Regions from separate parts of the Homo sapiens genome. Here region 2 is linked to region 1. Evidence: promoter capture Hi-C in 16 types of primary human blood cells and fetal thymus (Javierre and others, 2016). All regions are on one chromosome and are shown on one strand. The core of a region is centred on a gene start or on the middle of the fragment in contact, and the rest is flanking DNA. Distances in the headings are between cores, read along the strand shown.

Region 1 (4,389 bases), core at 831-3,330:
CTGTAATCCCCAGCTACTCAGGAGGCTTAGGCAGGAGAACTGTTTGAACCGGGACCCGAGGCAGAGGCTGCGGTGGGCTGAGACAGCGCCACTGCACTCCAGCCTGGGGCAACAAGAGTGAAACTCTGTGTCAAAAAAAAAAAAAAAAAAAAAACCATGAGTATATTCTTGGGCCAGGTGCAGTGGCTCACACCTGTAATCCCAACACTTTCGGAGGACAAGGCGGGAGGATCTTGAGGCCAAGAGTTCGAGACCAGCCTGGAGAAAAAACCCATCGCTACAAAAAAAAAAAAAAAGAAAAATTAGCCCGGCATGGTCCCAGCTACTCCAGAGGCTGAGGTGAAAGGATGGCTTGAGCATGGGAGTTCGAGACTGCAGTGAACCGAGATCACACCACTGCACTACATTTTGCAACAGTGATAGTCACAAACAAAGTCTCTACTCTTAAAACAAATGTAATTGTCAAGCATCAATACCACAAGAGAGCCCTCCAAACAAAAATGTGAACCTAGGCCGGGCGCGGTGGCTCATACCTGCAATTTCAGCACTTTGGGAGGCCGAGTCGGGCGGATCACAAGGTCAGGAGATCGAGACCACCCTGGCCAAAATGGTGAAACCCGTCTCCCCTAAAAACACAAAAATTAGCTGGGCGTGGTGGTGCGCGCCTGTAGTTCCAGCTACTCAGGAGGCTGAGGCAGGAGAATCGCTTGAACCCGGAAGGCGGAGGTTGCAGTGAGCCGAGATCGCGCCACATTGCACTCCAGCCTGGCGACAGAGCAAGACTCCGTCTCAAAAAAAAAAAAAAAAAAAAAGTGAACCTCCAATGAAGATATTCAATAGAATAAATATTCGGAATAAATTGAATGGTCTCCTAAAAATAGGGCTTTATTTTTCCCAACTACTTTAAAGGTATTTTTAACTAGCGATGTTAGATTTTCTTTCTTAATCCTACTAAAGTATAGCTGAGTATCTTCGTCTTGTTAATTTAGCCTCCAGAAAATTCTAATTTAGTAGTCTGCAATGCCGTAAAATGTTAAACTAGCAACAGATGAAAAAAAATCCGAGTAGAAACAGCAGGCAGGGATCTAAGGTGGAGTAAAAATAGCCACAAATTAGAAACCAGGAGAAAAGGTATATAGTATTTTACTTTCAATATTAATTTTCCTCCAAAGGTCAAGATTTCTGATTAAGAGTTCTCAGATTAAGATGAGCTAGCTTTGAGACACTTTGTTGTGCGGGTCATAGCTTTGTCTAAAAACAAACAAAAAACTTTGGGAAACTTTTCGAAGGCGCGCTTCCAAACTTCAGGCGCCGAGTCTATTTCACATGTGGGGCCATGTGTCCCACAAGTGAATCGTTTACACCACAGATATTCCTCAAAAGGAGACTAAACCAACTTCGCTCTCTTGTTACTTTGACAATAAAAGAGGAACCTTACTCCAGGTCAGTCCTGGATGCCAAGCCTAGGGACTAAGGGATTGCTTTTCCTCTTCTCAAATGTAAGTACACCAGACGCTGCCCCTCCGCGGGGTCTGGAGAGGACGAGCAACTCAGTGGGGATTGGAGCCGACCGCTCGGCTTCAGAGGTCCCGGGACGCCCTTAGGAGGCAGGGCGCCCGTACAGGTGGCGGCTAAGACGGTTGGGGACTGGGGTCGCCCCTCGGCCGGAGCCACAGGGAGAGGCCTGTGCGTGGCAGCCACGGGAGCGACTCACCTCGGCGTCTTCCTTGCACTGTGGAAGGGAAGGGAACTCCAGCTTCACGTCCTCCATGGTGCTGGCCCGCGGGCTGGTGGGTGGGGTGGGAGAGTGTTACACAGCCGGCCGACCCTCGGGCTGGCTGCGGCGGCGGAAGGAAGGAGGGCCGGCGGAGCGGAGGGCTGACAGGAGGGCGGCGGGATTACAACTAACACACGCAGACTACAGGGTCCCAGTGACTCCAGCAGCGGCGGCGGCGAAGACAGGGAAGAGGAGGGTCGGGCGTCTTACACCCGGCCGCCATGCCGCTGCCGTCTCCCTCCCCCAGAGTCTCCGTACCCCTCAGGCCGCCCAGGATCCAGCACAGGAACCAGCCCGACAACCGTCTCCCCGCCTCCTTCCCGCCCCCTCCACCCGCGTCGCCTCAGCCAATCCCAGCCCACGCTCGCCTTCTGCCCGCCCTCCGCCGCCGCCAGGTGTCAGCGCGCCACCGCCCTGCTCCGCCCCTTCGCTAGAGCGCAGACGCTTGGGGGTGGGGGGGGCGGAGCCTCGGATGCTGCTAGGCCACAGCTCACCCGGCGTGGAGGAGGCGGGGCTGCGGTGGGACAGGACGAGTGAAGGTCCTGGGAAAGGCAGTGGGGCGGTCCGAGCCAGCTCCGCCCTTTCCAGACAGGACGTAGAGCCCTTCTTTAACATAAGAACAAACAGGCAAAACAGGCTACCCACCAGTGGCATCCGAAAGGAAAGCTATAGTTTCTCCCCTCTCAAAATTCTGCGCAATCTATGCTGAGTTTATAACCAAATGACTAATAAATGAAGAGTTCAATTTAAAATCACGTGGTGCCATACAGAAAATAAAATACCCATCACCTTTAAGCAAAGAATTAAACGGCTCAATTTAAAATTTTTTAAAGTATTTTAAGAGTACTTGAAAATACAACTCAGTTTAGATTACCTAGAAAATATCAAGAATGGCAACTAGAAAAAAATCAGAAAAAGGAACTGATAGCTGACTCAGTAAATTGTATATAATACTGTAAAATTTCTTCCATTATTATATTTTGAAATAAAAATAATAAACCAGATGGCTTTCAATATCTTTTAAAAGGAGTTTGCCAGCCTGAGCAAAATAGTAAGACCCCCCTCTCTAAAAAACAATTTTAAAATTCCCTGGGTGTGGTGGCGTTATGCCTGTAAACCCATGGTGAAAAGATTTGGGCCGGGCGCGGAGGCTCACGCCTGTAATCCCAGCACTTTGGGCGGCTGAGGCGTGTGGATCACCTGAGGTCGGGAGTTTGAGACCAGCCTGACCAACATGGAGAAACCCCGTCTCTACTAAAAATACAAAAATTAGCTGGGTGTGGTGGCGCATGCCAGTAATCGCAGCTACTTAGAAGGCTGAGGCAGGAGAACCGCTTAAATCCGGGAGGCGGAGGTTGCAATGAGCTGAGATAGTGCAATGGCACTACAGCCTGGGCAACAAGAGCGAAACTCCATCTCAAAAAAAATCAAAAATAAAAAAAGAAAGAAAGGATTTGTACACCAAATTGATTCTTTAAAAAACCACCGCCAGCACAAAGGTAAAAGGCAAGATAGTCACTCCTTAACTAAATGCAAATTATAAGTGAAAAGATCACATAGATATTTGACTTAAACCTCCCCCTACATTCTACTTTTTGTCACATAAAATGCACTGCCAACACATAGAAATAGAACTGTACAATAATTTGAGTATGAGATGGCTAACTTGACCACTCCATTTTCTATTTTAACTGTTCATCTTCTAAAATTATAAAAAGGCACATAATATCCTGCTAGGAAGTTTTTAATTTGAAGAATTATTGTATAATTAGCTAGGTCATGTATTTTTGGTTCTTTAGTGTTTATGAAACTGAAGTTGTCTTTTCTTTTCACCAGCATCTTTAATAATTATTGATGCCCAATGATGATTCCTTTGTGTACTTTGTTATAGCTTTTATTGCCAGATGATATAAGAATCATGTATAGGTAACAGAAATCATGTTTTGAACATTTCTGACACTCCTACATCCCCTACATCATACACTCTTAGCCAGGTATCCATACATACCTAAAGAGTCCTTGGATGAGCTTGGGAAACAATAAATTTCCTGAAATTATAGTATACGCAAAATTGTATGTTAGAATTTTTCCTGGAAGAGGGTCCAGACCTCCACATCCTCAACAGGGACCTATCGTCTTACATAAACCAAGAAAACCCAGTCACATATTAGCAAATATTACGTTGAATCATACTCTTTAAAAAGTTATGGATGTGCATGTATATTTTCAATTAACCAACAATGAGCTTAATCACAGTAGATGAAGAATATGTAAACACTTTCTGAAAGGAGGAGTACAGACATACCCACACATCCATGTTTTATTTAAGAAGATGATCTTATGAACATTAAGTATGTGTACTATTTTAAAATAATATTCAAAAATCCACAATCCATCTGGGTTATCAAATAGTTTACTTGCTAAAGAACCTAAAGGACCACAGTAAATATACTCAGAAAAGACAAGAATATATATGTAGGAGAACTGAATCAAACAGATTTTATTCAACTTTTTAGATGAGGAAAACAAATGATACAAAATAAGTCATAAGAAATGCTTTCTTATACCACTATCTCAAACCACTTTCAATATTTTACAAAATGCTCACGCAG
Region 2 (4,305 bases), core at 1,453-3,952, 3.1 Mb after region 1:
CTAAATCTTCAGAGCCTCTGAGGTCAGTAACTTTTTCAGTTCATTAGTCATTTAATCAGTCATTAGACTGAGAAGGCAAGTTTATGCAAATCTTCTGGTTGTTTTTTGAGATGGAGTCTTGCACCGTCGCCCAGACTGGAGTGCAGTGGGGCGGCTCACTCACTGCAAGCTCCACCTCCCGGGTTCACGCCATTCTCCTGCCTCAGCCTCCCGAGTAGCTGGGCCTACAGGCACCTGCCACCACGCCAGGCTAATTTTTTGTATTTTTAATAGAGATGGGGTTTCACCGTGTTAGCCAGGATGGTCTTGATCTCCTGACCTCGTGATCCACCCGCCTCGGCCTCCCAAAGTGCTGGGATTACAGGCATGAGCCACCGCGCCCGGCTGCAAATCTTCTGTATTTTAATCATAACCATGTCCACTATATATTCCTTCGGATAACTAAAAATTAAAATATTTGGTGTATTATTTGCAAGGAGTCAAAGATGATGTCTTTTCCCAGAGGCATGAACCTTAGAAATGCTTTCGATGGGGATGTTTCTGTAACACTGTGTTATTCTGGATCTTCAAATAATAGCAAAGCCAGTTACTCTAAATGTAAAATTTTTCTATTCCCAAGGTTCACTTTTGTTTGGTAGGTTTTCACGATTTTAAATACTGTTTAATGGAAGAAAAATACGTAGCCAGGCGTGGTGGCTCACACCTGTAGCCCCGGAACTTTGGGAGACTGAAGCAGGCAGATCACGAGGTCAGGAGATTGAGACCATCCTGGCCAACAAGGTGAAACCCTGTCTCTACTAAAAATACAAAAATTAGCTGGGCGTGGTGGTGCACGCCTGCAGTCCCAGCTACTTGGGAGGCTGAGGCAGGAGAATTGCTTGAACCCGGGAGGTGGAGGTTGCAGTGAGCTGAGATCACGCAGTTGTACTCCAGCCTGGTGACAGAGTGAGACTCTTTCTCAAAAAAAAAAAAAGTGTGTGTGTGTGTGTAGAGAGTTTGTGTGTGTGTGTGTGTGTGTAGAGAGTTTATGTGTGTGTGTGTGTGTGTGTGTGTGTGTGTGGAGAGAGAGTTTATTTGGGCCAAAATAGAGGACTGCAACCTGGGAAACACATATTCAAGTTGCCCTGAATATATGTTCCCAAGTTCAAGAAACTTGAAACTTGTTTCTTTCTGATATTTTCCACCTATTTGGACCAAATAATGAGCTGTGTTTATTTTGTAATTACAAAATTTGCTTATATAAAACTACAGAGGAAAACATTTTTATTTGGGGCAACAATGAACTGCTTTTATAAATTAATTTAAAATATGGTTAATATGGTTATTCTCCCCACACCCTAACTATACACCTGTATTCACTTGACATGAACAAACTGCTTTGTGTTTGGGATTCAGGTAAAAGGTGATTTTTGCATTTTCTAGTAATAGTTTAGAAATCTTTTCATGTCAGCATCTTGAAATCTACCTCATTATTTATTTATTTATTTATTTATTTGGGAGACAGAGTCTCGCTCTGTCTCACCCAGGCTGGAGTGCAGTGGTGCGATCATGGCTCACTGCAGCCTCAACCTCCCAGACTCAAGCGATCATCCCACCTTAGCCTCTGGAGTAGCTAGGACCACAGGTGCATGCTACCACTCCCGGCTAATTTTTGTATTTTTTGTAGAGATGAGTTTTGCCATGTTGCCTAGGCTGGTCTCGAACTTCTGGGCTCAAACAATCCACCTGCCTTGGCCTCCTAAAGTGCTGGAATTATAAGCATGAGCCACTGTGCCCAGCCTAATTTTTTTCATAATTTACTTTTTCTCTGGAGCATAGATTCAAAATGCCCTGAATATATGCTCTCTACTTCATTCTTTTAATAACTATACAGTTTGCTAATGTTACGCTGGAGTATCCCAGTGCTTAAAAATATAATACACTTGGCTGGGTGCAGTGGCTCACGCCCGTAATCCCAGCACTTTGGTAGGCCAAGGTAGGAGGACAGCTTGAATCCAGGAGTTGGAGACCAGCCTGGACAACAAAGTGAGACCTGTATCTACAAAAAATGTCAAATTTTTTTTTTTGAGACAGAGTCTCACTCTGTCGCCCAGGCTGGACTCACTGCAATCTCCGCCTCACGGGTTCACGTGATTGCAGTTTTAGTAGAGACAGGGTTTCACTATGTTGGCCAGGCTGGTCTCGAATTCCTGACCTGAAGTGATCCACCCACCTTGGCCTCCCAAAGTGCTGGAATTACAGGCGTTAGCTGCCACACCAGGCCCCAAAAATGTAAAAATTAGCTGGGCATTATGGCATGCACCTGTAGTCCCAGGTACCCAGGCACTTGGGGGCACAGGTGGAGGATTGCTTGAGCCAGGGAGGTCAAGGCTGCAGGGGGCTATGAGTGTGCGACTGCATTCCAGCCTGGGCAACAAAGTGAGACCCTGTCTCAAGGCAAAAAAAAGAAAAAAAGGGGGGCGGGGGCTGGGTGTGGTGGTGGCTCACGCCTGTAATCCCAGCACTTTGGGAGGCCAAAGCAGGTGGATCACTTGAGTGCAGAAGTTTGAGGCCAGCCTGTGCAACAGGGCAAAACCCTGTCTCTACAAAAAAATGCAAAACTTAGCCGAGAGTGGTGGCATGTTCTGTGGTCCCAGCTACTGTAGAGGCTGAGGCGGGAGGATCACTTGAGCCTGGGAGGTCAAGGCTGCAGCGAGCCGTGATTATGCCACTGCACTCCAGCCTGGGAGACAGAGCAAGACTCTGTCTCAAAAACAAAATCAAACAAAAAAACACACCACTTATTTGAAATAAAATACTGTAATTGGCTCTTACCTGCCCAAGAACTAAAAGGTCACACAAAATTTGAATAGATCTTTTCATGTATATTTCTTAGCCACCTCATTAGGAAATGTTTTAAAGCTGAATTATATTTTGTATCTGGGATCCCATTTATAGCCCTAGAGATGATGTTATTCTTCTGAAATACTAAAAGAGGCCAGCTGTGGTTGCTCACACCTGTAATCCCAGCCCTTTGGGAGGCCAGGGCAGGTGGATAGCTTGAGGTCAGGAGTTCAAGACCAGTCTGGCCAACATGGTAAAACCCCATCTCTACCAAAAATACAAAAATTAGTCCGGCATGGTGGCAGTCGCCTGTAATCCCAGCTACTCGGTAGTCTGGGGCAGGAGAATTGCTTGAACCTGGGAGGCGGAGGTTGCAGTGAGCCGAGATTGCACCACTGCACTCCAGCCTGGGCAACAGAGTGAGACTATGTCTCAAAAAAACAAAACAAAAGAAACAAAAAAAGAAAGAAAAATACTAAAAGGTCAGGTTTAATAGACAGAAAAAGTACCAAGACCTCTTTCTTTTAGGTTCTTTTTCTATACGTTTATGTTTGTTCTCAGTACAACTCTTATTGCTCTGTACAATACCAAACTTAAATTTTTCTAAGACAGCTCATAGGAATAACATTAAAATAAACATTTTAAAAAGTGTAACCCTGAACAATGTGAGAATTTTTGTGAGCTGCTTTGAGATACAACTGTTGTCAAGTGGGACTTATTAGGCAGAATATTTTTTCCCTTTTTATTTTAGGAAAGGTTATTTGTCAATGAAGAAAATGTTAATGAGTTTCTTGAAGAGGTCCTGAGCTCTCCATTCAAACAGTCTATGTCCTTGACCCCACCATTAATTGAAGTTCTTCAAGTTACTGATAATAAGATTCAAATTAATGCAAAGGTAAGGAAGTTGATGGGCTCTATAGAGGAGTAATGAAGCACAGAGTTAAAACCTAACAAATTATTGATTTCTTAATATCATAACTTTAAACAAAATTTACATAATGGTTGGGCAGAGTGATGTTAAGAGAAGAAAAGTTTTTCTTTTTTTTTTTTTTGAGATGGAGTCTCCCTCTGTCACCCAGGCTGAAGTGCAGTAGCGCGATCTCATCTCACTGCAACCTCCGCCTCCTGGGTTCAAGCGATTCTCCTGCCTCAGCCTCCCAAGTAGCTGGGACTACAGGAGCATGCTACCATGCCTGGCTAATTTTTTGTATTTTTAGTAGAGATTGGGTGTCACCGTGTTAGCCAGGATGGTCTCGATCTCCTGACCTCATGATCCACCCGCCTCGGCCTCCCAAAGTGCTAGGATTACAGGCATGAGCCACCGCGCCCAGCCAAGAAAAGCCTTTTGTCTGTGTATGTATTATGTGCTAAACACTTTGCTATTCATTTTCACATTATTTAATCCCAAAATAACCCTACAATGAGGAACAAAGAGAAACTAACACTTAGGAAGTTTGAGTACTAGTCCAGGGACATACAATC

The links. Contacts are between HindIII fragments. The CHiCAGO score rates a contact against its expected background, and 5 or more counts as called.
Region 2: a contact is called between a fragment that was not itself captured here and the fragment with the promoter of STYX in region 1, in 1 of 17 cell types (neutrophils). The highest score is 8.8, in neutrophils.

The regions. Positions count from the first base shown.
Region 1 is chr14:52,727,857-52,732,245 of GRCh38, reverse strand. It overlaps STYX (serine/threonine/tyrosine interacting protein), which reads right to left and starts at 2,080. Exons shown (of 11, transcript NM_145251.4): 1 at 1,715-2,080. The coding sequence starts at 1,771. It overlaps PSMC6 (proteasome 26S subunit, ATPase 6), which reads right to left. Exons shown (of 14, transcript NM_002806.5): 14 at 3,656-4,389. RefSeq lists silencers at 1,786-1,865, 1,936-2,395. The HindIII fragment of the contact is 7,384 bases long and covers 1-4,389 here.
Region 2 is chr14:49,627,425-49,631,729 of GRCh38, reverse strand. DNAAF2 (dynein axonemal assembly factor 2) reads left to right here. Exons shown (of 3, transcript NM_018139.3): 2 at 3,575-3,718. Among named protein-coding and RNA genes, the nearest start is that of DNAAF2, 5.7 kb to the left of the region's middle. RefSeq lists an enhancer at 1-82. The HindIII fragment of the contact is 7,948 bases long and covers 1-4,305 here.